4 separate regions of the Homo sapiens genome follow, and all the other regions are linked to region 2. Evidence: promoter capture Hi-C in 16 types of primary human blood cells and fetal thymus (Javierre and others, 2016). All regions are on one chromosome and are shown on one strand. Each heading gives the region's core, a stretch centred on a gene start or on the middle of the fragment in contact. The rest is flanking DNA. Distances are from core to core; before and after follow the strand shown. Region 1 holds the start of MAP2K5 (mitogen-activated protein kinase kinase 5). Region 2 holds the start of SKOR1 (SKI family transcriptional corepressor 1). Region 3 overlaps MAP2K5 (mitogen-activated protein kinase kinase 5). Region 4 holds the start of C15orf61 (chromosome 15 open reading frame 61).

What was found. The method cuts DNA at HindIII sites, captures the fragments that hold promoters and counts their contacts. A CHiCAGO score of 5 or more calls a contact.
Region 1: a fragment that was not itself captured here is called in contact with the fragment with the promoter of SKOR1 in region 2 in 5 of 17 cell types (activated CD4 T cells, total CD4 T cells, megakaryocytes and 2 more); the score reaches 5.5 in activated CD4 T cells.
Region 3: a fragment that was not itself captured here is called in contact with the fragment with the promoter of SKOR1 in region 2 in 3 of 17 cell types (naive CD4 T cells, non-activated CD4 T cells and activated CD4 T cells); the score reaches 5.9 in naive CD4 T cells.
Region 4: a contact is called between the fragment with the promoter of C15orf61 here and the fragment with the promoter of SKOR1 in region 2, in 8 of 17 cell types (naive CD4 T cells, total CD8 T cells, non-activated CD4 T cells and 5 more). The highest score is 8.2, in naive CD4 T cells.

Annotation. Positions count from the first base shown.
Region 1 is chr15:67,540,045-67,545,833 of GRCh38, reverse strand. It overlaps MAP2K5 (mitogen-activated protein kinase kinase 5), which reads right to left and starts at 3,131. Exons shown (of 22, transcript NM_145160.3): 1 at 2,364-3,131. The coding sequence starts at 2,498. MAP2K5-DT (MAP2K5 divergent transcript) reads left to right here and starts at 3,204. Exons shown (of 1, transcript NR_186334.1): 1 at 3,204-4,766. RefSeq lists a silencer at 2,996-3,115 and enhancers at 3,989-4,038, 3,691-4,191. The HindIII fragment of the contact is 1,416 bases long and covers 3,518-4,933 here.
Region 2 is chr15:67,823,033-67,828,657 of GRCh38, reverse strand. It overlaps SKOR1 (SKI family transcriptional corepressor 1), which reads right to left and starts at 3,149. Exons shown (of 9, transcript NM_001365915.1): 1 at 2,949-3,149; 2 at 514-2,722. The coding sequence starts at 3,055. It overlaps LOC124903570, which reads right to left and starts at 5,281. Exons shown (of 4, transcript XM_047433429.1): 1 at 5,219-5,281; 2 at 4,615-4,699; 3 at 3,256-4,019; 4 at 3,074-3,145. The coding sequence starts at 5,281. The coding sequence ends at 3,074. RefSeq lists enhancers at 605-1,242, 1,243-1,881. The HindIII fragment of the contact is 26,599 bases long and covers 1-5,625 here.
Region 3 is chr15:67,559,453-67,565,544 of GRCh38, reverse strand. It overlaps MAP2K5 (mitogen-activated protein kinase kinase 5), which reads right to left. Exons shown (of 22, transcript NM_145160.3): 3 at 2,195-2,262. Among named protein-coding and RNA genes, the nearest start is that of MAP2K5, 20 kb to the right of the region's middle. The HindIII fragment of the contact is 166 bases long and covers 3,579-3,744 here.
Region 4 is chr15:67,519,057-67,525,348 of GRCh38, reverse strand. C15orf61 (chromosome 15 open reading frame 61) reads right to left here and starts at 4,218. Exons shown (of 2, transcript NM_001143936.2): 1 at 3,755-4,218. The coding sequence starts at 4,100. IQCH-AS1 (IQCH antisense RNA 1) reads left to right here and starts at 3,505. Exons shown (of 6, transcript NR_040052.1): 1 at 3,505-3,830; 2 at 6,247-6,292. RefSeq lists enhancers at 3,792-3,911, 4,552-4,631 and a silencer at 4,022-4,371. The HindIII fragment of the contact is 4,154 bases long and covers 650-4,803 here.

The sequences.
Region 1 (5,789 bases), core at 2,976-5,475, 280 kb after region 2:
AGTGCTTTACATGTATCAACTCAAGGAGTCCTCAGAACTCTAGGAGGTAGGCATTACTTTCACCCCTCCCCAACTTTTTTTTCACAAATAAAGAAACTGAGATACAGAAGATACTTGCCCCAGTAGTACAACTTGCAAGTTAAACAACCTGGCTCCAGAGTTTGTGGTCTTAAACACTGGGCTATTCTTGAAATAATCACATAACCAAATAATATAATCACATAATAATCAACCTTCCATTGTTTTAAATGAGTAAGAGAAAACCCATCTTTCTCATCACAGTCACAATCTCACATAATCTTTCCAAGTCTTTGAGGAAGGTACAAGTTTCCCTGTTTTACAAATAAGGAAACTAAGGCTCAGAGAGGTAGACTGACTTGCCTAGTCAGTGGGACAGCTTGCAATTAAACCCAAATTCCTTGACTCTAAACCTAGTGTTCTGTCCACAGAACCATAATTGCATGCATCCTCTTTTAAGCTCCCTTCTTAAACAAGTATTTTGGGGTCCTATGAAGAAACAAAAACAAACATATCTATCTCCTCCAGAAGTTTACCATCTAGTGGAGGAGACAAAGAATCATGATCAAACATGTGCTTTGCTGGGGGACCCACACAAAGCTGTGACGACACAGAGGTGGGGCACATAACCAAGAATGACACAGAGAAAAAGCACAACTTGGCTTGGAAGGACAGGTGGGAATTGACCGGTGAAGAGCAGAGTGCAGACAGCCTGGACACCTGGGAGAAATGAAAATCAACCTATGTAAGTGAGGCACAGAAGTTTATGGGGCCGTGAAGAGAGATGACACAGGTGCCAGGCAGACAGGGGCCAATCCAGATGTGCCCAGAGGACCACATGAAGGAGCCTGGGCCTTATCATGAGGGGAAATCTGTATGTGCATGACTGTGTGGAGAACTCCGGATACAAAGAGAAGGATGGCATTTGATGCACAATATGGAAAGCTCCTGGTCAAGGCACCCAAAAATCTGCATGGCCTGGGCAGTCAGTAACATCTAGAACTCAAAATGAAGTTATAGAAATCAAATTTTGATTAAGTTACCCAAGACAATGAAAAATCACATCACAAATCTTCCTCTTCCCAAGATCCTGCCACCTTGCCCACTCTTAACTTGCAGGTAGTGATGTGCTTTTCGGAATGTCCGCTTCTGTCTTCCATGCCTCAGTTATTCTGCATGTAGAATGGGCACAAGGCACCCTGTCTATCTCAAATGAATACCAGAAAGATTAGAAGCGGCTGCAACATGTAGGGAAAGAAACCTACTAAGTCAATGAAACAAAATTTTAGTTCTGGTACTGACTCTCCCACTCAGGAGCTCACAGCTTTGGAAAAGCCATTTCACCTCACTGCTCCTCAGTAACTATCTGCAAAAAAGAAACATCAGCTGAACAGGCCACCTACAGTGTTACACTCTGCTCTAAAATTCCATCATTTTATTTGAAATATATTCTGAAAAATCTGAATGTAAAATATCACCAATTCTAAGATGCACATTTTCCCTTACTTTTACCGTCTCTGAAACTGGACTCATTTTAATAACGGATGATGTGTCATACTGTCATGGTTAGCATTTTTTTCTAAGTAAAATGTCTTACATTCAATGATGCTTTAAGTTTGCTCAGGCTGGGCACAGTAACTCACACCTGTAATCTCAGCACTTTGGGAAGGCCGAGGCAAGCAAATCGCAGGAGTTCAAGACCAGCCTGGGCAACATGGCAATACCTCGTCTCTACAAGATACAAAAATTATCCAGGTGTGATGGCATGTGCCAGCTACTTGGGAGGCTGAGGTAGGAGAATCGCTTGAGCCCAGGAGGCAGAGGCTGCAGTGAGCCGAGATCGTGCCACAGCACTGCAGCCTGAGCGACAGAGTGAGGCCCTGTCTCAAAATAAATTAATGAAACAGTGTGCTCAAACATGGTAAGTTAAAGTTGTCCTTTTTCCCTTTCTCAGCTGGTCACCAAGTTCAGAGAACTCAGTAGAAAAACAAGGCTGGAATCTGTCCAAGGACATTCCCCGAAACACTTGGGGGGAAAAAACCTCTCTTCTAGATTCAGCAGTTTGCATTTGCGTGGTTGTGTCTATATGTGTGTCCCAGCCCGGGCCATGAGCTCTCTGAGGGCAGGGGTTCAGTCAGATTGATCTATCTCCCCAGGGTCCTAGACATTTGCCAGGTTTTAGTGGTTGCAATTTATCAATGCTGTGCCTGAAGCAATAAAACTGCCTCCACAGGAAGCCAGCAGTAGCCATTGCCACTGGCTCAGGTCACCAGTGGTCAAGGTGCTGACTACTCAAGTCCCTGAGTCCCCCTTGCTGGCATCCGGACACTGAGATTACCACTCACCAGCACATCCCTGAAGAGTAACTGCGGCCCGGAGTGCACTGTCCAGTCCACCGCGCCACTATTTGGGATCTTGATGCGAATTACCAGCACCTGGTTCTCCATGGCAGGAAAGGGGCCAAGGGCTAGCCACAGCATTACAGGTTAAAGAGGCTCACATCCTGGGGTATGGGAAACCCACTGGCCGCTGGTTAGGAGGGGGCTCCAAGAGGTGACAAGGGGAGTGACGGGCAGAGGACAGAGGGTGAAAACAAGGGAATGGAGGATGAGGGGGAGGGAAGAGGGGAGGGGTGATCAGGAACGCACCCGCAGGCACCGAGCCTGCCCAGGCTGTCGGGGGTCTGAGGTGTCTCCCGGGGAGGGTGCACCGGGAAGCGGGCAAAGGCCCGCAGGAACTAGCGGAGGTCGGAAGGTTCTGGAGTTGAGCGAACGCTATGGTGAAGGTCTCTGCCGCCGTGTGGGTATGAGGAGGCAGCAGGGCAAGGACTCGGTTTGGGGGAGATACAGCGGCAGGTGTCCACCGCTCGTCAGTGGACTAGGAGAGGGTCCTCGACTGGAGGGGACTCAGTCCGGGGCTATTAAGAAAGAGCCCCAGGGCCGCCACACCACGGAGAGTCCCCGCGGGAGGTTCAAGGGGCGAGTCTTCTGCCCCACCCGGAGACACAGGGCGCGGCGCGCGCAGGCTGAGCTCCGGCCACCCGAGGCCGCGCGGACTGGCGGCGGCTGCGGCGGCGGCGACGGCGGTAGCGGCGAGAGGAGGAGGAGGAAGGCGGCGGCGACACTGTTACTCCGGAACCAAAACGCGCGGCGCCGGAACCCCGGGAGCCGACGAGCGGGACCCGCCTCCCGCGGCGCCATGTTGGAAAAGGGCAGCAGCTCCCGGGAGGATGCGCCCCCGGCGTGGGAAGCCGAGGAACCGGCGCGCGGCGCGCGGCGCGTGGCGCGTGGCGAGTCGGGGAGAGACTGGTCTTGCTCGCTCAGGAGACCCTCATCGCCCACAGAGCGCCCGCGGCGACCCGGTCACGGCCCTTCCATTTCCTGACCCTGCTTAATGACAGCGAGGTGAAAACATCTACCAAACGAAGGGTAAAAGGCTGGAGTCCGCCAAAAGCCAATTTAAGGCTTAACATTGCAGACCGTTTGTCTTTACAAAAGCTTCAAAGACGGGGCTGCAGCTCCCGGTTATCCCCACTTTGTCAAGCCATGAATCTGAATGTTCGTGGGGTTGTGTGCATCGAATCAGCAAGAGCAAGGCAAGAATTCAAGAAATAGTTCTTTTTTATCCCCCCTTCCAAGTCACAGGTTCAGAGGATCATCATCTTTCTCCCACATTAGCAAAACATATTTGCATTTTTCAGTGAAGTTCTTTACCGCACGAGTGCCCTAAAATAGCAAACAGTTCCCTGTTCAAAAGCAATAGTAAAGAAATTCGCCGAAGAGTTTAATTGCCTGGGGACAGCTGCAGTAGTCGCATCATCGTCTCTTATTAAACTGTTGCAGAAATATTCGGTCTAGTCCATGTATTTTCAACTAAATAGCACTGCTTACGCAGTTGGTGATATGGTGATATCACGGAAGTAGCAATAAACCTTGGTTATCTTTTTTTTTTTTTTTTTTGAGACGGAGTCTCGCTCCGTCGCCCAGGCTGGAGTGCAACGGCGCGACCTCTACTCACCACAACCTCAGCCTCCCGGATTCAAGCGATTCTCCTGCCTCAGCACTACCACCCCCACCAGCCCCCAACCCCTGCCGAGTAACTGGGACTACAGGCGTGCGCCATCCGTGCCCGCTCATTTTTGTATTTTCAGTAGAGACTGGGTTTCACTATGTTGGCCAGGCTGGTCTCAAACTCCTGACCTCGTGATCCGCCCACCTCAGCCTCCCAAAGTGCTGGGGGGATTACAGGTGTGAGCCACCGCGCCCGGCCAACCTTGGTTATCTTCAAATGCCTTGTTACCTCAGATTTTAAAGTGCATAAGGTTGTAGAACGATGGTGCCTCTACAGAAGTTTCTTTACAAATTGTAATGTGTAGGTTCGTCCTTTATTTCTTTCTTATGAAGGTGCACGAATTGGCTTTACTTTCTGGGGTTGAATTTTGTATAAACTCGGTTGAGGAGGCTTGTCAGTTTCCCTTCTAACAGTAAGGTGCTTGATTAATGTGAGAGAAAAAAATTAATGTTGGTCATTTTCAGTTACAATACCAAAATTTTTTCTGCATACTTTACTCTGAGTTACTTTTATATTTAATTTGAAAGGCCATTGTAGGAGATAAATTATCACATTTTAAGTTACTGTAAATCAATAGCTTAGGTAGAAATTCATTTAGTCAGATCCTTCAGATATTCTAGGAATTTCCCCTTTTCACCTGCACTTCACTTCTGTGAAAAATAAACCGTTCATCAAAAGTCCTCATGTACTTTTATTAAAAGTTCATTTCCTATTATTTTAGAAAATAGACCACGAAACTAGAGATTTTCTATGAACCTGTGATTTGTTAAAATGTCTCTTTTATTCGAAGTACCGTGGGGAAAACCAACTCAATTTGCCAAATTTGCATACATATTCTGAAGCTTTTCTTACACTAATGGCAAACTCATATTTCTGTTCCAATATTTGCAGAGCCAATATAATTACACGTCAGCTCTTCATAGCCTTTATGTAGTAAGAAATCTTAACTTTGATGATTTGAGCAAGGATTTTTCCAGAAAGTTATAACTCTCATTGCGAGAAGCATCATAATCACTGATAATACATTCCACTTGATATCATAAATGACAAAATATAACTTTCTGATCTTTACCAAATTGAATACTGTCTAAATTTAAGGAATATTTAGTATTTAACATCGAAGTTGCATGTGATCTTAAGAAGTTTGCATTTAGTACTTTTTTTCATTTTATTTTATTTTATTTATTTATTTTGAGACGGAGTCTTACTCTGTCACCCAGACTGTAGTGCACTGGCGCAGTCTCGGCTCATTGCAACCTCCACCTCCCAGGTTCAAGCGATTCTCCTGCCTCAGCCTCCCAAGTAACTAGGACTATAGGTATGTGCCACCACGCCCAGCTAATTGTTGTACTTTTAGTAGAGACGAGGTTTCACCATGTTGGCCAGGCTGGTCTGGAACTCCTGACCTCAAGTGATCCACCCGTCTCGGCCTCCCAAAGTGCTAGGAATACAGGCGTGAGACAGCGCGCCAGGCCTTTTTTCTTGTTAAATGATACAAGTCAGAATAGTCACTCAGGTACTGGCTGAGATAGTTTACTAGCCATTAAGCAAACTTACTGTAAAAAAAAAACTGTGCTTACTTGTAGTGTTCCTACTTGAGGGATTTACTTTTCACTAAGTGTAATAGAAAATCCCTCCCCTCATGAAGTTATATTCTGATGGGGAACACAGACAAATGAGTAAAATATATGTTAGATAGT
Region 2 (5,625 bases), core at 1,900-4,399:
CCAAGGCGGGAGTGCGAAGAGACTCGGAAAACTGCGAGTTGGGGTGGTGGGAGATTCCGGGGACCCGGTACTGCTGGGGCCCGACTCAGGGAGAGGCCACACTGTCCTCTCTTCTCCTCTTCCTTGGGGCTCTGATGCCCACCCGGGCGAGCGCTTTTCTCTGGCTCTGGGTTCCTTTCTTACCTCCTCTTTCTTTCTCCACACCCCTTTTCTGTCTCTGTGTCTGGCAGTCTCAGCCGGTCTCCTCCCCATTCCCATCAACAAAAACAAAGCACACAAGTTCCCCAGTCCTCCCGCCGCCCCCAGCTTCCCTTCCCTTCGAAACCCTCACTGGAGGGTGCGGGTGGGCCCAGTTTCGCAGCGCGCCCAAGGCTGGGCCTGCGGAGAGTGGCCGAGGCCTGCTGCTCCCACGCCTGCGCGGAACAAAATTCCCGTTCTCCGCCCGGCCCCGCAGCCCTGCCGCGCACAGGGTAGGTGGGAAGGCGCCACTGGCGGGGCGGGCGCGGGGCTCACCTTGGCCGGCGCGGGGCCTCCTAGGGGCCCGCAAGGCTCTCGCAGCTCGTAGCCGCCGCCGCCGCTTGGCGGGCTCCTCTCAGGTCTCCGCACCAAGTCTTCGGCTGCCAAGTCCCCAAATGCGGGCCGGCCAGCTGGGGGTGGCCCGAGGCGGCGCCGGGGGCGGGGGCTGCCGCCGTCGGGAGAGTTTGCGGGACCGTCCGCGCCAGAGGAGGTGGCGGAAGGGGGTCCAGTGGGCTGTTCACCGTCTGGGCCGCCCCCTGCGCTGGGTGCGCTGGGCTCGGTCTCCTCTTGGGCGTCCTCGTCGTCGGGGAAGCGGTTGGATTCCACGTCCACCTCGGGCTCGTCCGCGGTGTCCACGTCGGGCGAGGCGGAATTGTAGCTGGAGCTGCCCTCGCTCAGAAAGTCCGGGCTCACGTAGCCGCCGCTCCCAGCGCCGGGTCCCGGCCCCCGAGCAGGCCCCGCGCCGTACGCCTCCCGGGCGCTCCCGTAGAGCTTAGCGATGCTCTCGGTGTCCTTGACCACCGGCCGGAAGGCCGACACGTAGGAGCCTTTGCGTGCGGGCGGCGGGGGCGGCGGGGGCAACGGGGCCAGGGGCGGTGGCAGCGCCTCGTCCGTGCCGTCTTCGTCCAGGGGCCCGCGGGACAGAGCGCTCGGGCAGCGCTCCTCCGCGCCGAGGCCACTCTCTTTGGCTGGCTCGGCACCGTCCAGGGGCTCTGGGGCACCGCTGCCAGCAGCTGCCGCTGCCGCCGCCGCTGCCGCCGCCACGGCTGCCGCCACGGCCTTGGCTTGGCTCTGAGCAGCGGGGTAGGACGGTACCGGGAGGCTGCCTGCTGCTGGCCAGAACATGGGAAACGTCGGGTACACAGTGGCGGCGGCGGCCGCTGCAGCCACTGCCGCTGCGTCCTTGGCTGCCCCGGAGGGTTGATGCCCCCAGAACATGGCGCCGCCGCCCGGGCCCGCCCCTGCCCCCGGGGGCAAGTGGCTGGCTCCCGGGCCCCCCGCACCCCCGCCTGTCCCCGCGCCGCCGCCGCCGCTCCCAGTGCCAGGACCGCCCTTTGGCTCGCCCGCGCCTAAAACCGGGTCGTCCTTTTTGGGGCATAGGCCGAAGGCCGTAGGGAAGCCGTAAGGATGGGGGAAAAGTGGTGGGGGCAGCTTTTGCAGGAGCCCAAAGCCTTTGCTGGGCACCGGGATCACCGGGTAGCTTCGTACGCCGGCGCCGCCACCGGGCCCTCCTGGGCCCGCCGGGCCACTAGCTCCAGTCGCCAGGCCAAGTCCGCGCTGCGGGTGGGGTGGAGGTGGCCCCGGAGGCCCGGCAGCCTCATCTTCGCCACAGCGCAGGCTTTTGTGGGGCGGCGGGCCTGGGGCCATCTCTGCACCGCACCCTGGGCCACCGCCGCCACCGCCGCCAGCACCACCCTTCCCCTGCCCACCCGACCCGCCATTGGCACCGCCTCCGCCGCCTCCTTGTAGGGAGAAGGTCCGCTTGCGCGTGCCGCCATTAAACATGGCCTTGACGTCCTCCCAAGCATGGCTCAGTTCGTCTGTGGCCGACTTGTCACTGAGTTTGAGGTGACGACGCCAGGAGTTGAAGTTGGCGGCATCGGGCTGCGTGTACTTGGCGTCGGGTGTTCGGTGCGAGTGGAAGATGAACTTGTTGGGCGAGAAGTACATGCTGCAGTAGCCGCACTTGATGCACTTGGCACGAGAGCTGTTGTAACGCGCAGGGATGAAGCTACCACGCGAGCCCCACGCGCACTCGTGCACCACATCGAAGGCGAAGTTCTCGGGCAGCTTGGGTGGTTTGTGCTCGCCCAGGAACGACTTGCACAGGCGTTCGGCCTCTCGCTTAGTGATCATGCCGCAGCGGCGCGACGAGATGGGCATGGCCCCGGCCCGACGCAGAATCTCCAGCTGTACCGGCGTGCACTGCACGCACGTGATGCCCAGGGCCACGCGGCGGTTGTGGATCTCATTATAGCTGTAGTTCTTGAGGAGGGTGTTGGAGATCTGCGCCAGGCATAGGCGCTCCTGGCCGTCGATGACCAGCGACACAATGGGCACCCCGTACAGCGACGTCTCGCCCACCTGGTTGGGTTTGAGAGCGCTGGAGCCCGAGTACGGCTGCAGCTCCTGCTTGGAGTTGGGCGAGGAACTGCCCTCGCGCCCCGGCCCCAGCTGAGTGGTGAGAGCCTCCATGCCGCCGCTCCTGCGAAATAGAGAAAGCAGAGAGCAGATGAGCCATTTTCAGCGCCGCCGCCGAGGCTCGGGCCCGCCCAGCAGGGCGCTCCGAGTTGGGCGCGCGGGGGATACTTGGCAGTGGGGAGTCCAAACTCATTCACCCCCTGGACAGGCGTCTTTTGTTACTCAGACCCATGTTGGCGCCGTTAACAACAGCCCCCGGGGCTTGGGGGAGGAGAAGGGGTAAAGGAGACCTCAGGAATGCCCGGGCTGCAAGGAACCCAATCCCGTTTTCGGATTGGGAAGGAAGTGAAACCCAGATACGCAGAGTGACTTGCCCAAGGCCACACAGCAAAGCCATTGCCAAATCCTGGCTTTTTCAGCGCCCAGATCCGTGCGCCTTCGGCAACCCTCGCAGCCGGTGCTGCCGGCCCGGGTCCTGAAGCCCGGACTTCGGGGATCGGCCGCCCCTCTGCTCAGTCGCGCATGCACGCGGGCGGGCGGGGGCAGTGCAAGGAGGGGTGGGGAGGGGGGAGGGGCGGTCACTGCCCATCTCCAGACAGCAGGGGGTAGAGGGGGGTGAAGAGAAGGAGGGGGGTGAGGAGAAGGAGGAGGGAACCGTGTCTGCCAGGGAAGGAGAGAGGCGGAGGCTACCGCTGTTCGCGGTGCTGAACCTGACCCTCTCCAAAGCGCTCGGTGCGCACCCGGACCTAGCGCGGCCCCCACCGCACCCAGCTTGGTGCCCGAGCCGGCTTCAGGGGACAACATTGCCAGTTTCCACAAACCCGAGCTTCTCCTCTCACGGCTGGCGCCCGCGTTCGTTGAGCAGAAAGATTTCGGCTGGATATATAAACCGTTTTCTTTCCAGCTATTAGTGAGACCAGGATCCTGCAGTTCTAACCACATTTTCTGCATTTTTAGCTGTATTCCAGACCAAAGCTGGTTTCCACCGAGGTCAACGTGTGGGACAGAGAGGTTCTCAAGGAACTTTGTTGGGATCCACTTCTTAGCTTCCAGTCGCCCACTCCTTGAGCTTTCCTCCTTCAGATATACGTTTCCCACTCGGGCCAACTGCAGGATTCGGGGCTCTGGGCTTCCTCTTTGAGGGGCATCACCTCTCTGAGTATCCTTCATGCCTCGCTGTCCCGGCTCATATGGGCTAGAAGGAATCTCAGCCATCTTCGTAGCCATTGCAAGGCTCCAGGCACACAAGTTGCTGCTGGTCCTTGCACTTTGCTTTCTGGCTGAGGCAGGGAGGGAGCTGTGCAGGCAGACCTCAGCAGCGGGGGTACTTGGGGACTGATGTTTGGGGCCCTCTAGGTCGCCTGACCCAGCCACATGTCCTCAGACAAGCCAGGCTCCCATCCGGCCCAAGGCTGCAGGCGCTCCTGCGGCCAGGGCAGCCCAACCCTGAGGGCTCCTCCCCTGCAGTCGGCCCTGAATGTAACTCCGTTTTCAGAGGGGCAGCTCCAGACAGGGGATCCCAGTTCAAAAGCCTTCAGCAAGGAGACTGGAATCTTCTGTTTATCTGTCTCTCTCCCTTCTTCTCTATTTGTCTAGGAGACCCTCATTTGTCGATCTTATCTGTCCCTGAGCTGTCTCTGCCGGCTCGTTCCTCTTTCTCTCATCTGTTTTGTACCTTCTTCAAGTATCAAGCTATTTATGTATTATCTGTCTGTTTCATCTTTATCTCCGAGGATCGAACTAAAATAAGTTGACCCTTATTTCGCGTTGAAGTCCTTTATATCATTGTAGGAGGCAAAAACACTGTCCTAACTCCCCGGCTGACAAGCCTCGCGCCCTCCTGGAGGTGGCTGGAGGGCGCGCAGCGCTGGGAAATGACAGCTTCTCGGTTTCTCGAAATCGGCAACTATGCCTGGCCCGCATACAGTGAAGACAGCGCCCGAGCCGAGAGCGTACCCCAGTTGAGGGTCCTGGGTCCCTGCGCGGTTTTCCCTGAGTGAGAGGAGGGGGGTCCGGGCCCGGAGTCAGAAGAAGGGGGTCCCTAGGAAAGGAACGGAATTTCGGGGGCCAAAGCGGAAAGCACAGGCGAAGAGCCATATGCAGCGACAAGGAGCAGCAGCCAGAGCAGCTTGAGGAACCCCCGTCGGCTCCCGGAGCTAGATGGACGAGCTTGGGGAGGGCAGCGAAGCGGGAGACTGGCAGTGGTGGGAGCGAGGCGGTGGTGTCTTTAGGTATAATCATAAAAACAACAGCCACAGGAGCCCAAATCAGAACTAAACGAAAAAAAAGCTGCAGGAGCAGAGCGCGGGGGCGGCGGGCTACCGGACGTGGGTACTCACAGTGCGGCGGCGGCTGGAGCCGGGCGAGCGGTGAGCGGAGGTGCGCGGCGGGAGGAGCGGCGGGCGGGAGTCCGGGATCCGCCGGGCTCTCCGGGTGACGGCGCGGCCCCTCCCCGCGCGCGCGCACAGCCGTGCTCCCTGGTTCTCCGCGCTCCCACCCGCGGCCCCTCCCGCTCTCAGCGGGCACGGGGCGCCGGGACCCCGGGCGCGGAGATGCGAACCCTGAGCCGTTGACCCCGAGGCCGGGGACTGGCCGGAAGAAGAGGCCGAAGCCTGGAGCGCATGGCGCGGCGGCGGGGACGGCGCGGTCACAGCCCGAGTGGCGGGGCAGGCGCGCCTGACAGCTGAGAGCCGGGGCGCCACACCCACCGCCCGCGCAGTCGCTAGCGCCCTCCCCGGGTCCGCCCGCCCGCGGGCCACGCGCGGCGCCCGCCGCCTCCCCGCAGCCCAAGGCCTGCACGCCCCAGGTAAGCGGCCGCACACCTGCGTCCAGCACCCTGCACCTGCGTCCCGCTCTAGCTGGAGAGGCCAGGAGGGAGGAAAGGCCCTGGGGCCATAAAGTTTGTCCCCAAGAACGAAGTGGGGAGGGCCCAGTGCTCCCGGCCAAGGAGCCAGTTTTGGTCTGGGC
Region 3 (6,092 bases), core at 2,412-4,911, 260 kb after region 2:
TAATAATGATGATGACAGGCCGGGCACAGTGGCTCATGCCTGTAATCCCAGCACTTTGGGAGGCCGAGGCGGGTGGATCACGGGGTCAGGAGTTTGAGACCAGCCTGGCCAACATGATGAAACCCCGTCTCTACTAAAAATACAAAAATTAGCCAGGCATGGTGGTGGGTGCCTGTAATCCCAGCTACTCAGGAGGCTGAGGCAGGAGAATTGCTTAAACCCGGGAGACAGAGGTTGCAGTGAGCCAAGATGGCACCACTGCACTCCAGCCTCGGTGACAGAGCAAGACTCCATCTCGGAGAAAAAAAAATAAATAACAGTGATGACATAAAAAAAATCCTGCAAAGAGGAAGGTGGGGGAGAGACAGTGTAAAACAGTAAATGAGCAACAGCTTGGGCATGAAAAGAAACTGAACTTAAATTCCATATTCACATTCATACTAGCTCTAAGACCTTGGGCTTATCTCTTAACCACAGCTTCCTCATCTAAAAAATAAGGATGATAATATCTGTCTTACAGAGTGATTATTAAAACTAAAAAAATTAAATACCTCAAGCATTTTGTATATAGCAGTAACTTAGAAATGGAAATCATCATTATCACTGTGACCACACCCACTAACATTTTCAAAAAGCACAATTTGTAAGATCATACCCAAAAGTACATATCTTTTGCATGTGGTTAAGTTGAATACATAATGAAAGTATATTGATGTCAGTTCTCTGCAATGGACATATGTGAGAAAATTAGAACCCATCTGTGTGTGTGGGTTTTCTAAAAATAAGCATGTCACATTCTCAGGAGAGTTAGCCAATCTATCAATACCAGTGGTAGACCTTTTCAGCAGACAATCCTACTCTGCCTTTCAAGGTACTGATGAGCCCAGCTCTAAATTCTCAGTACACAAAGACTCTCACATAAGTTAATGCGAAGTCAATGGGAAATTGACTTTTCCTATTCTGTGCTGGTTGGAATGCAATGCTCTGTTAATCATCCTATCCTTCTTGTTCTCTATTCTCCTACCCTAAATTAAAACTATTGGCAGAAACCCATACAGACAGTTTACAGTTTTCATTACAATGAAACAATATCCTGGCTGAAGCTGAAGTCTATCAAAAACCTACAACCTAACTGTTGACTAAGATTAGGGTCTCAGTGAAAAGCAAGAGCCCTGATTCCATCATTTCCACATGATTCCAAATGATTCCATCATTTGCATTTGTATAGAACTTTTAACTTTTCAAAGGGCTTTCACATCTATTCTTCTATTTGATCATTACAATGGCCCTGTGCAGTATAAAGGACAAGTATTATTATCCACAATTGACAGATGAGGCAACTACAGCACTGAAAGGTTAAGTGATTTGCCTAGGGCCAAGAAACCACAGTAGAGCTAAGGTCTCCTGACTTCCAGTCCAATGCTCTTTCTACCAGGCCACGGGAAAAGGTTTTGTAAACAGATTACAGACTCAGATATAACAAAACAAAACTTGAGAGGAAGGCACAAATCAAGACTCAGGTAACCTATGTCTCCTCATGATAGCTGAATTTTTCAAGCTTAGTATTGAAGCTTTAGAAATATGCCCTTTTCTCTTGTTTACTTCAGTATCAGATAACTGTTAACGCAGATTTTCAGTAAAATTTTAAACACAAAAGAAAAGTCGTTTCAGAATATATTCAGATCACTTTGATTCAGTAAGTAGCCCTGTAGTTCATTTTCGGTGGGAGTATTATGGGTAGTGCATAAATAACCAACAGTACATCTTTAAATCGTGTATCCATATTAAGCCTGCAGCTACATTGTAAACTATAGTCTGGAAGGGTGAGAGAGATCTCCAGTTGAAAGTAGATTTTGAAAAATTTTTTAGAGCCCAGGGGTTCATTTTTAATGAGCCGTTACTTTAAGTACTGCATAAAAAATACAGGAAATTGATAGTCCATTTAGTCTGCATCATACCTAATGCAAAAGTCATTAAGATGCATTATTCTTAATGTTTATGATATGATCAGTAAGTGTCTTTTGAAAATAATGCCCTTAACTTTCACATACGGAAATCCTTGAAACCTTTACCTATTATATAGAAAAATGTATGACAACTGTGATTTATTTACTCGTCTTCACTATGCCCAAGAAACAGCATCCTCAATCACGTTAAGATTTTAAAAAATAGTCTTCATTTGTCGTATACTTACATATGACAGCATTGCCTTCATTTCCTCATCACTTCTCACTGTAATTCGATCACCATCTTCATCTTCATCTGTTTAAAAGCACATAATGCAAATGATAAGGTGTGCATTTGTTTAATGCACAAAGGGAACATAATATAAACGGTTTATTACAATGTGATATTCTAACCCTCAACACCACATTTTGGGGGTATGTTGACATTATTAGTTTGTTGTTTTGTTTTCCATTTGGAATATGATCAGAATCTCAATATAAAACTTTCTTTTAGGGATAGCAGAAAATTAAAATATTGCTCATGTCATTCACAACATATCTCTAGGTTAAAGTAAATATAACTGGAGTATGACAAAACAGGTTTGGTTAGCGGAACTAAAAACCAACGAGAGGCCAGTCTTGTTCTACTATCCACACTTTTTAAATCTCCCAAACAGCACCATACCCCGATTTCTCCATTCTTCCTCTCTCCCAGGCAATCTATCATCTCACAACAGCATGATAAAAATGGCTAACACTTACTGAACACTACAATACATGAGGCACTGTGATCTATGCTTCATATGCAATACCTCCTTGAAAACCTCATAACAAACCTGCGACATGAACATCATTATTATTATTCTCTTTCCACAGGAGAACCTAGGCCTAGTGCAAGGTTAACTTGTAAAGCAGCTCTAATACAGGTCTCCCCCATTCTATTTAGCAGCTCTTTTTCCGAACAGTTTCACTTGTTTTGCATACTCTCCAGCCATAGAAAGCTTCAAATGCTATTCATGCTATTTTGAAATAATTTAAGTCTTAAGGCTGGAGGACAAGACTTCACAAACTACATAACCAGAATGTGTAAATTTGAGTAAGTATCATCAGAGGCCACATCTAGAAATAATGTATTTATTTCATGATACTTCTCTTATTCAAAGTAGTTTTTGAAATATCTCTTCAAAACTGCTTTAAAAACCTGAAGATAGACTATGTGAGAATATTAAATCTCATTTTTAACCCAAAATGAAATTGTTGGCCTGATCACTTACCCACATCATCTGCCAAGCATGTCTAAGAATGACTTATGGCTATTTCCAAATATATAGTTAACTCTTCATCCTTCTATAAAGATTTGTCAACAGTGAGGACAGCCTATGTAGTAGACTGTAAATGCACAGTTGAAAGAAATGCCAAAAACGTCTGGAGCAACGTACAGAGCCTCCCAAGGGGACAACTTGGAAGGGGCAGGCTCTCAGCAGGATGCCTCAGTTCTGGTGTTAACAATCGGAATTATTATTTTTGTTCACTCTTGGGCATATAATTGCTGATTTGATCATATAGAAAGACTGTTCTGATCCCAAGCCTGGAGAACCTCAGACAAATCTCTCATCATGAAGAGAATAAGCTTGCCCAACATGGTCAGGGGATGCTTACTGAAAGTACAGAGGGAGTTCAGTTCAACACAGGGATCTTCCCCTACCACAAGTCAGTGGGTCTTCCCTCCTGTCTGGCTGTAGTTCCAAGGATATCCCCCTGCTTGGTGACTAGGCTATGGGGACCCTAGGAGGAAGCTTGTGTTCTTTCACAATTAGCCTAATTTCAAGCAAAATACTTTCTCCCTTTATCTCTTCAGTGGCCAACAGCAATCTGATAGCATGATCGAAACCAGCACTTGGACCAGTCCTGTTCAGTGACCCATAGCTCTCACTCTTTCCAAGCACTTGTTTTCTTTCCAAGCACTTGTTTCTGGATCCTGGTTCACTGCTGCAGAGTTCCCCAACTCAGTGTGAATCGGTATCATCAAGATCACACTGTCTAAATCTAGGAGAGTCACTACCAGTATTCTGCTATCAAGAGTTGCCTGTTTTCAGAGTAAAAGGCATACACTGGTCACTTGCAGTAATGAAGAAGGCACAGTCCTGAGAGATGTTACACACATAAAGATTCTTTCATTCGCTTTAGATATAGAATCTCTAGAGCCAAATTGGGGGAGAAATGCCATTCCAGCTGTAGAGAGAGAAGAAAGGAGTCTGTCTATATATAAGTTCTAGAAACTAATATTTTCAAGGTTAAGGCGAAAGTTTTCTTAAAAATGCAGGAGACAGGAAAAAACAAAGTACAAATGATGTAATGTTACATATCACCACACATGAAAGCACTTTACATTTTTGCTTTAAAACCAGGTCAAATTCTCTTTAAATGTAGGCTAAACTGATTTGTTCTTTATGAAGTTCTGAACTTGGCATAAAAACAAATTCCAGCCTGAATAAAGTAGTTTTTTTAAAATAAATCTCATTTCTGCAACTAAGCTAGCTATAGAGATTATGGTTAAAAAGAGACTGCTTATATTTGAATTTCAATATACCCAAGACCTGAATAAGGTATTGTTCACATAGGATGGGCAAGTGCTTATATTTTGGTAAAACGAGTGAAAACCCTTCTTATAATTTATTTAAAAAAAGGGGGGGGCACCGATTACATAAAAATCATTTAAATCACAATCAAGAACAAAAGGAGAGTTCTTCAACTTCTCAAAGCTAGAGCTTGAACCTTTAAGGCTACTTAAACCAAAATATTTTGGAATTCTAAATTTCTAAGAAATCTCTTGAGGGATTATTTCAGAAGAAAAAGATCTGTGAAAGAAGTCAGCTACCAGAATAATTTCTTGAAGAGAAGTTGCATAAAAAGTAGCTATGAAACATTACAAGAGCATTTGCTTAAGTGGACAGAAAACTGAAGCCAAAAGGTTAGAATAGCTTTTGACATCAACCCAGTGATAAAATGTTGGAACTCTCCCCTTAGGGGGTCTGACTCCAAAAGAAGATTTCAGATAAGTTGAAAGAGGCATTCTAATAAAGGCTGGGGATAAAATCAGGCTTATATGGCATACTGATGAATAGTTGTTGTGGGTTAATAGGATACCTAGCTTTATATAGGTATTGGTTTTCTTTACAAACTGCTCTTTGGGAGACTGTCTGATTTGCTCTTTAATATCTATGCTTAGTCGTTTTATTAAAGACTCCTTGTTTTTGTCCAAGAGGAAACTGAGTTAGAAAAGTAACCATACCCATGAGAAGACTGGTGGCTCCAGCCAAAAGGCAAAAGCTGAGCTGTCTCTGACCCCTTGATGGCAGCCCAAGAGCAAACCACTCACCTTAACCTGTAAAGCAAAAATGCACTTCTCTCTAAAGACAGTGAATTGACAGCTACGAAAAGTTAGTGAAGGGTAAGAAAGCAGAAATACATACTAAGCAAATTACTATGACAGTAGCCTAAAATACTTTTCTGAACAAAAACTTGGATATATACAGCCCATCTAGCCAAGATTCAGGCTAGCTGCCTATCAAGCTGGATAAGCTGTAAAAATTACACTAGCTGGAACCATAAATCATAAAAACTTACTAAACTGCCACAAAGTTTCAGAGGTACAAATATGTTAGAGAACAACACTAGAAAGTAGTGGTACTAAGAAGCAAGAAAATAATTTGAGCTTTTTCTATCTTATACATGGAGGTTCTTTGCCATCTGACCAAAAAAACGTTACCGGATATGACCAACAAAAGGGGTGGGGGTAGGGGAGCAGACAGATCTGATACATTGGTTCACAATGAGAATTCCAGGCTTCTCTAGTTGCCTGGAGCATAGTAATATGATTTTCCAGCACATTAGGGAAGCAAAAGTAGAACCAGAAAGCCTATGTACTGGCTAGATTTTGTTAATGTCACTTAAAATGGAGGAAAAAATCCTAGCAAGATACCAAATAGAGTGCAGCAGATGGTAAACCAATATTATGAAGCAATCTTCACAAAATCTGCAGTGTGTCACAAATATACAAAATGGCAGAGTTTGGGAAAAGAGAATCATAACAGGCCATATGTTGTTAGCAATTTTATTTGAGGCAACATGCAATCCAAAAGAAAA
Region 4 (6,292 bases), core at 2,969-5,468, 300 kb after region 2:
ATCTTTTTAAAGGTACTTATTTAAAATTAATGACTACTAACATATTAAAAACATATGTAATAAAACCATAGGCACATGAATCAATAACAAATACTGTATGCTCTGGACAAGCATTAATTTTATGCTCTTATGTGGGAAATGGGCAGAAAGTGACACTTTAAAAGGATAGCTGTACATTTGGAAAATCACTTTCTTTCTAGTAATAAAGAACGCGGCTGGGCACTGTGGCTCACGCCTGTAATCCCAGCACTTTGGGAGGCCGAAGCAGGCGGATCACCTGAGGTTGGGAGTTCGAGACCAGCCTGACCAACATGGAGAAACCCCGTCTCTACAAAAAATACAAAATTAGCTGGGCGTGATGGCGCATGCCTATAATCCCAGCCACTCAGGAGGCTGAGGCAGGAGAATTGCTTGAGCCCAGGAGGCAGAGGTTGCACTGAGCCGAGATCACACCACTGCACTCCAGCCTGGCGACAGAGGGAGACTCCATCTCAAAAAAAAAAAAAAAAAACAAACAAAAAAGCAACACATGCTCTGGACTAATCATATTGCTAAATTTTGGTCTTATTTTTCTGCAAGAATATATTTGCTGTGTTAAGCTCTTTTTGAGTGTGTTTGCTGAACCACTTTGTGCTTACTCCCTGAAGCTTCATTCCAGCCACTGTGATGCCAGAGATTAATCAGGAGAAGCATCACATCACTAGCTGGTAATGAGAAGGGGAAAAAAATGCCCATTCAGGCTGGCATCTCTCTATTTTTAGGAATATACTGGGTCACAGTTTGTCACCATCACAGGGTTCCCTGGAACTCCCATGAAACCTTTTATAGTGTATCACCTTCTTTGCCCTGATAATGTCCAAAAGAATCTCTGAATACCTCAAGGGAATGTCATAAAAAAATCCACAAAAACTAGAATAATAAAGCTACTTATAAATCATTTAACCACAAAGAAAAAAAAAGGCAAGTGGCTCAGGGGTGGGAGGTAGAAAAAGAAGAATATGAACAAGCTAGGCAGAAATGAGAGTGAAGTATAGGGAGTAGTTGAAATAAAAAATAAATTTAAAATGCAATATCACAACTTCAAAGCTGAAAATCAATGGAGTGAGGAAGAAAAAAAATAGGCTCTAGAAGCAATTACTAATTTTCTAAGCATACTGAGACTAAAATACATAAAATAGGCCTCTTAAACCAAGGCTAAGTATATAAATTTAAGGAATACCTGGTGACACTGACAATTTTCTTTTATAGTATTTATCATAGTTTTCAGTTAACATATTGATTTAAAAAATTCATACTTTTGAAAAATCACAAATACAGAAATAAACGGTCAATATATTTTCAGCTAAAATCAAGGGCTGATCAAAGATTACTAGCTTAATAACTATATTATGTCTTATTAAAAAATAACCAGCAACCATTAGCAGTGATGCTGTTTGACAGGAGATGGAGTTATGATCTGAGTCAGAAATTCTGTATTTTTTTCCCCTTGCTGTCTGTTTATTTAATGCAGTCAGACTAATACTCAAAATGGGAAGGTTTGCCACCTATATAACTTATATATTACAAAATCTTTGTAGCACACATGCTTTGAAGTCTATAAGATTCTATGAAAAATTCAATTTTTTCTGAAAAATTAAATTTATATCTGAAACATGTAACATCAAAAGAACCTCCAAATCAGTTCTTTGCATAATAATTCACTTTGAGTCAGCTGAACAGTAGGTAAACCACTGTCAAATTAAGCACTTTAAAAAATTAGAATTCCTCAGTAAATCTCATTCATTCCAATGGTAAGTTGCTTTTCTTAAATCTCAATCTACTTCTCAGCAGGATACCTAGACTGGTAAACCATCAGTAAAATGTCAGCTTCCATTGAAGGGAAGACGGAGGAGAAAAGGAGCAAATGGGTAAACAGAAATCTTTATTATTTACAAAATGGAAAAATGAATTTGGAAGGGAAGAAGAGGAACAAAATCCTAAGTATAATATTAATAGGATATGTACTTTATCACCCAGAGAGACGATTGTACCTCACAGAATAGGAAAGGACCTATTATCTAATTCACATCCCCTCTACCTTCAGACAAAAATTAAAAATAAACGTTACCAGATGTGTTCACCACTTTAAAATATTTTTTAATTCCCTTTATCAGTATATCCCAATTTGTATTAAAGCATGCATGAGCAAAAAGTTGTCCTTTTTGCTTAACTTAGAACTCTTACTCCCATTTTAGCAGGATTTTTAGAATGTCCAAAAGACCATACAGACCATTAAATCACTCTCCCACATTAATAAACAAAACAAAACAAAAAACACTACAACTGTTGTTTCTTTCAACTTTAAAAGGTTTTACTTTTCTATGTGTGGAATGTTCTGAGTATCCACTTTTTTTGGATGTCTTAATCTCTAAATCTAAAAGAGAGGCCCCTAATCATTAAGGTGCTCTTAAACAAAATGTCAACACTAAAAATGTGACTTTAAAGGAAAAAAAGGCATTTGGCTCATGGTTTACCTATAACTCTCCCGTTATGCTTTTCCTAACCTATTATTCTTTAGGGAAGAATGATTTCTTACTTATGAAAAATGCTAAAATAAACTTATACTTCTCGAATCTAGTTAACACTCCAGTCTTTCCAAATAATTTCGAATTGAATTTCCTAAGTCACCTCACCCTTCAACTTCAACCAACCTCCAAAGTAGTGGGCATGCTCTATACAGTCCATCAGCCAAATAATAAGAGGCATTTTTAAAGGATAACACGTTGCTAAACAATTATCTCCTTACAGGACAGTCCAGTGGAGTAACGGCTCAAAAAGCCCACGACTGACATATGTGTTATTATAAGCACAAATACACAGACTATTTTTAACCTTAATGGACGATCAGATTATGTAATAGTATTAGTAGTACGGCTGCGCAGGGTTTAGTTTTAATCCTGGCTTTAAAAACCTGGCTGGGTAACATGGTTCATTCAGCTCCATGGCTAGATTTTGAATCACTGAAATCTAGATTGATTTTATGCCAGCTATTAGTAAGTTCAAAACATCTTGAGGCCTTCTGTTTTCCCCTGACCTATAAAAGATACACCCATGTCCATGTTCGTACCTCCCTCTTCTGTCATTAAACCAAAAGAAAATAAACACCTAGTGACAGTAAACATCCTCAGGGCGTCTCCATGAAAATATACAAATATTAAAGATCTTTAAAAATCTTTTAGGCCTAGCACCTCAGGAAGCTGTTATGTCTGGTGAAAACCTTTGGTGCTTTTAGTAAAACGAACTTGCCGGGAATTCATACAAAGAAAACAAAAGAAACTTAAAAGAGTAGTTCCAGTTATTGCAACATAAACGCAGCTGCAAAGTGATGTTCACGGGAATGAGTCCTGCCATGCAGTAGGACGGATGTCAACTTCAGAGCCACTTTCTAGGGGGCGTTTCCTGACGCCCCCTGGCTTACTGCCCAGGCCAGGGGTCTACTCTGGTTAACATGGGCAGGACAGGAGGGCGACCCGCCCCTCCCTAGGCCCGAGGACGCGCCCGCAGCAGGCGAACGGCTTCGGGTGCCAGGAGCTCAGCAAGCTGGGGACCCCCTGGGCGAGGAGTACAAAGGACCCCAGGCGAAGCCGGCGCCGGGAGGCAGAGCTGACTCCCGCGGGACTCTACCGGCCTGCGAGCGTTCGTCACGTGCTCGGTGGCTGAGGGGCCGTCCCGGCCGGGCGGGCTTCACCGCGTGGGCGCGGCAGTCGCCACTCACCGAGGTTGACGACCTTGAGCGCCGTGAAGAAGCGGTTCTGCCGGGCCAGGTCCTGCCAGGGAGCCTTGGAGCAGTGGTACTTGATGAAGGGGAAGCAGCCGGTGCGCAGGACGTGGTAGTTGGCGCCCTGCACCGGCCAGTTGAAGTGCGAGAGGCCGAACTGGTCGTTGCGGACGGCGCTGTAGGGCACGCAGAAGGAGGTCCAGTGCGGCAGGCGCCGCTGCAGCAGATGCCGCGTCAGCACCTCCGAGGCGCTGGGCTTGGGGCGGGCGGCGGCGCGCGAGGCCCACGGCCTACACAGCAGCAGGCGGAGCGCGACCTCGTGGGCCCTCCTCAGGGCCTCCATGGCCCGCCGCGCCGGGGACGCAGGCTGGTGTCCGCAGCCGCTGGCGCGCAAGCGCGCCCCCGGGCGAGCGCCGGGAAGGCCAACCGGCGCCGCGCGGGTGCCCGAGAGCCCCCGGTGTGCGGCGGCGCGTGCGCACAGCGGCCCCGTGGCCTCCCGCTGGGGGTGGAGTCCGGGGGATGGGAAGCGTGAGCTGCGCGAGGCGGAGGGTCACCTGCGTCAAGGAGCTGGTTTTGAGTGGCCAGGTGTGACCTCACGCCGTCATTAGTAACTCGGGCAGGGGAGGGATTCGGGGAGGTCTCATCAATTTGGGCCTGAGGAAAATTCAGGTGGAAGACAATTAAATAACTAACCACCTCCGCAAGGTGCAGAACTCAAACCCAAGTCTCCCTCCCACGCCCTGGGCTCCAGGGAAGCCCTTGGGTGTTGTTGTTGAAACAGGACGAGGCGTGACCCCGGGTCTGCGTTGTTTGGTAAGGCCGGGAGCACTTTTGTGTGTAGGTCCTCGCTGTCGGGTTCACTGTTTAAAATTAGTCCCAGAGATTTCAAAATCAAAAGTTTATTTAAAAACCTCACGTGTCTCAGTGCAGCGTCCGAACACACAAAGGCACCTCCCTCTAAGAACCTGGTAGACGGACCAGGAGCCTCTTATCGAGCTTTGTGGACCTCAGTCACCCATTACCAATCCATTACTTTCGGAAAAGCTTTGCTCAAACTTTGCGGCCTCTTGAGGCAGTAACTTACGGACAAAACTGCTTTTAGAAAAGGATTTCCTCTTTTGTCCTAAACTCATTTTGTTTGGAGAGGCCATACATAAACAAGATGATGTGTCTGAAACCACCTTATGTAAATGAGGTACAGTAATTACGCGTTAAGCATCATATAACAATTACTATCGTTGCTAAAAACTCAAGGGGGATGTAGGATAGTATGGCGAAATTTTATATTCCCCAGTTTTTTGTTTTGTTTTGTTTTGTTTTTTTGAGACGGAGTCTCACTCTGTTGCCCAGGCTGGAGTGCAGTGGTGCAATCTCAGCTCACTGCAACCTCTGCCTCCCAGGTTCAAGTGATTTTCCTGCCTCAGCCTCCCGAGTGGCTGGGATTACAGGCGTGCACCACCACGCCTGGCTAATTTTTGTATTTTTAATAGAGACGGGGTTTCACCATGTTGGCCAGGCTGGTCTCAAACTCATGACCTCGTGATCCACCTGCCTCGGCCTCCCAAAGTGCTGGGATTACAGGCGTGAGCCACTGCACCAGGCCTATTCCCCAGTTTTTATTGAACATTGAGCACCCACCAACATATGCCGAATCTTGAACTTTACCTTACAGAATTTGAAGTTGAACTTTACCTTATAGAACTTGAACTTTATAGAATTTCTTTTTCTTTTCTTTTTTTTAGAAAGGATCTCACTGTTGTCTAGGCTGGAGTGCAGCTGCTCGATCTCGGCTCACTGCAACTTCTGCCTCCTGGGCTCAAGAGATCCTCCCACCCTCAGCCTCCCAAGTAGCTGGGACTGCAGGTGTGTGCCACCTACACTCGGCTGCTTTTTTTGGTATTTTTTGTAGAGGTGGAATTTTGCCATGTTGCCCAGGCTGGTCTTGAACACTTGGGCTCAAGTGATCCGCCCGCCTCGGCCTCCCAAAGTGGTGGGATTACAGGTGTGAGCTTCTGCACCTGACCAAATTAAATTTTGAAAAAGAGTGGAGTCCTTTTTCAAACGAAATCTGTTGAAGGTCCCCAACATATAAAGTTGGTTAAAACTTATGCTTTAGGCCGGGCACGGTGGCTCACGCCTGTAATCCCAGCACTTTGGGAGGCCGAGGCCAGTGGATCATCTGAGGTCAGGAGTCCGAGACCAGCCTGGCCAACATGGCGAAACCCTGTGTCTGCTAAAAATAGAAAAATTAGCCGGGCGTGGTGGCACATGCCTGTAGTCCCAGCTACTCGGGAGGCTGAGGCAGGAGAATCACTTAAACCCAGGAGGCAGAGGTTGCAGTGAGCTGAGATCGTGCCACTGCACTCCAGCCTGAGCGACAGAGCGAGACTCCGTCTCAAAAAAAAACAAAAAAAACAAAAATAACTTATGCTTTATTACTAAGCATAAGTTCAAACTTTTTTTAACTTTTTATTTTACTTATTTTTTAGGCGTGGGTTCTCACTATGTTGCTTAAGCTGGTCCAGAACTCAAGCC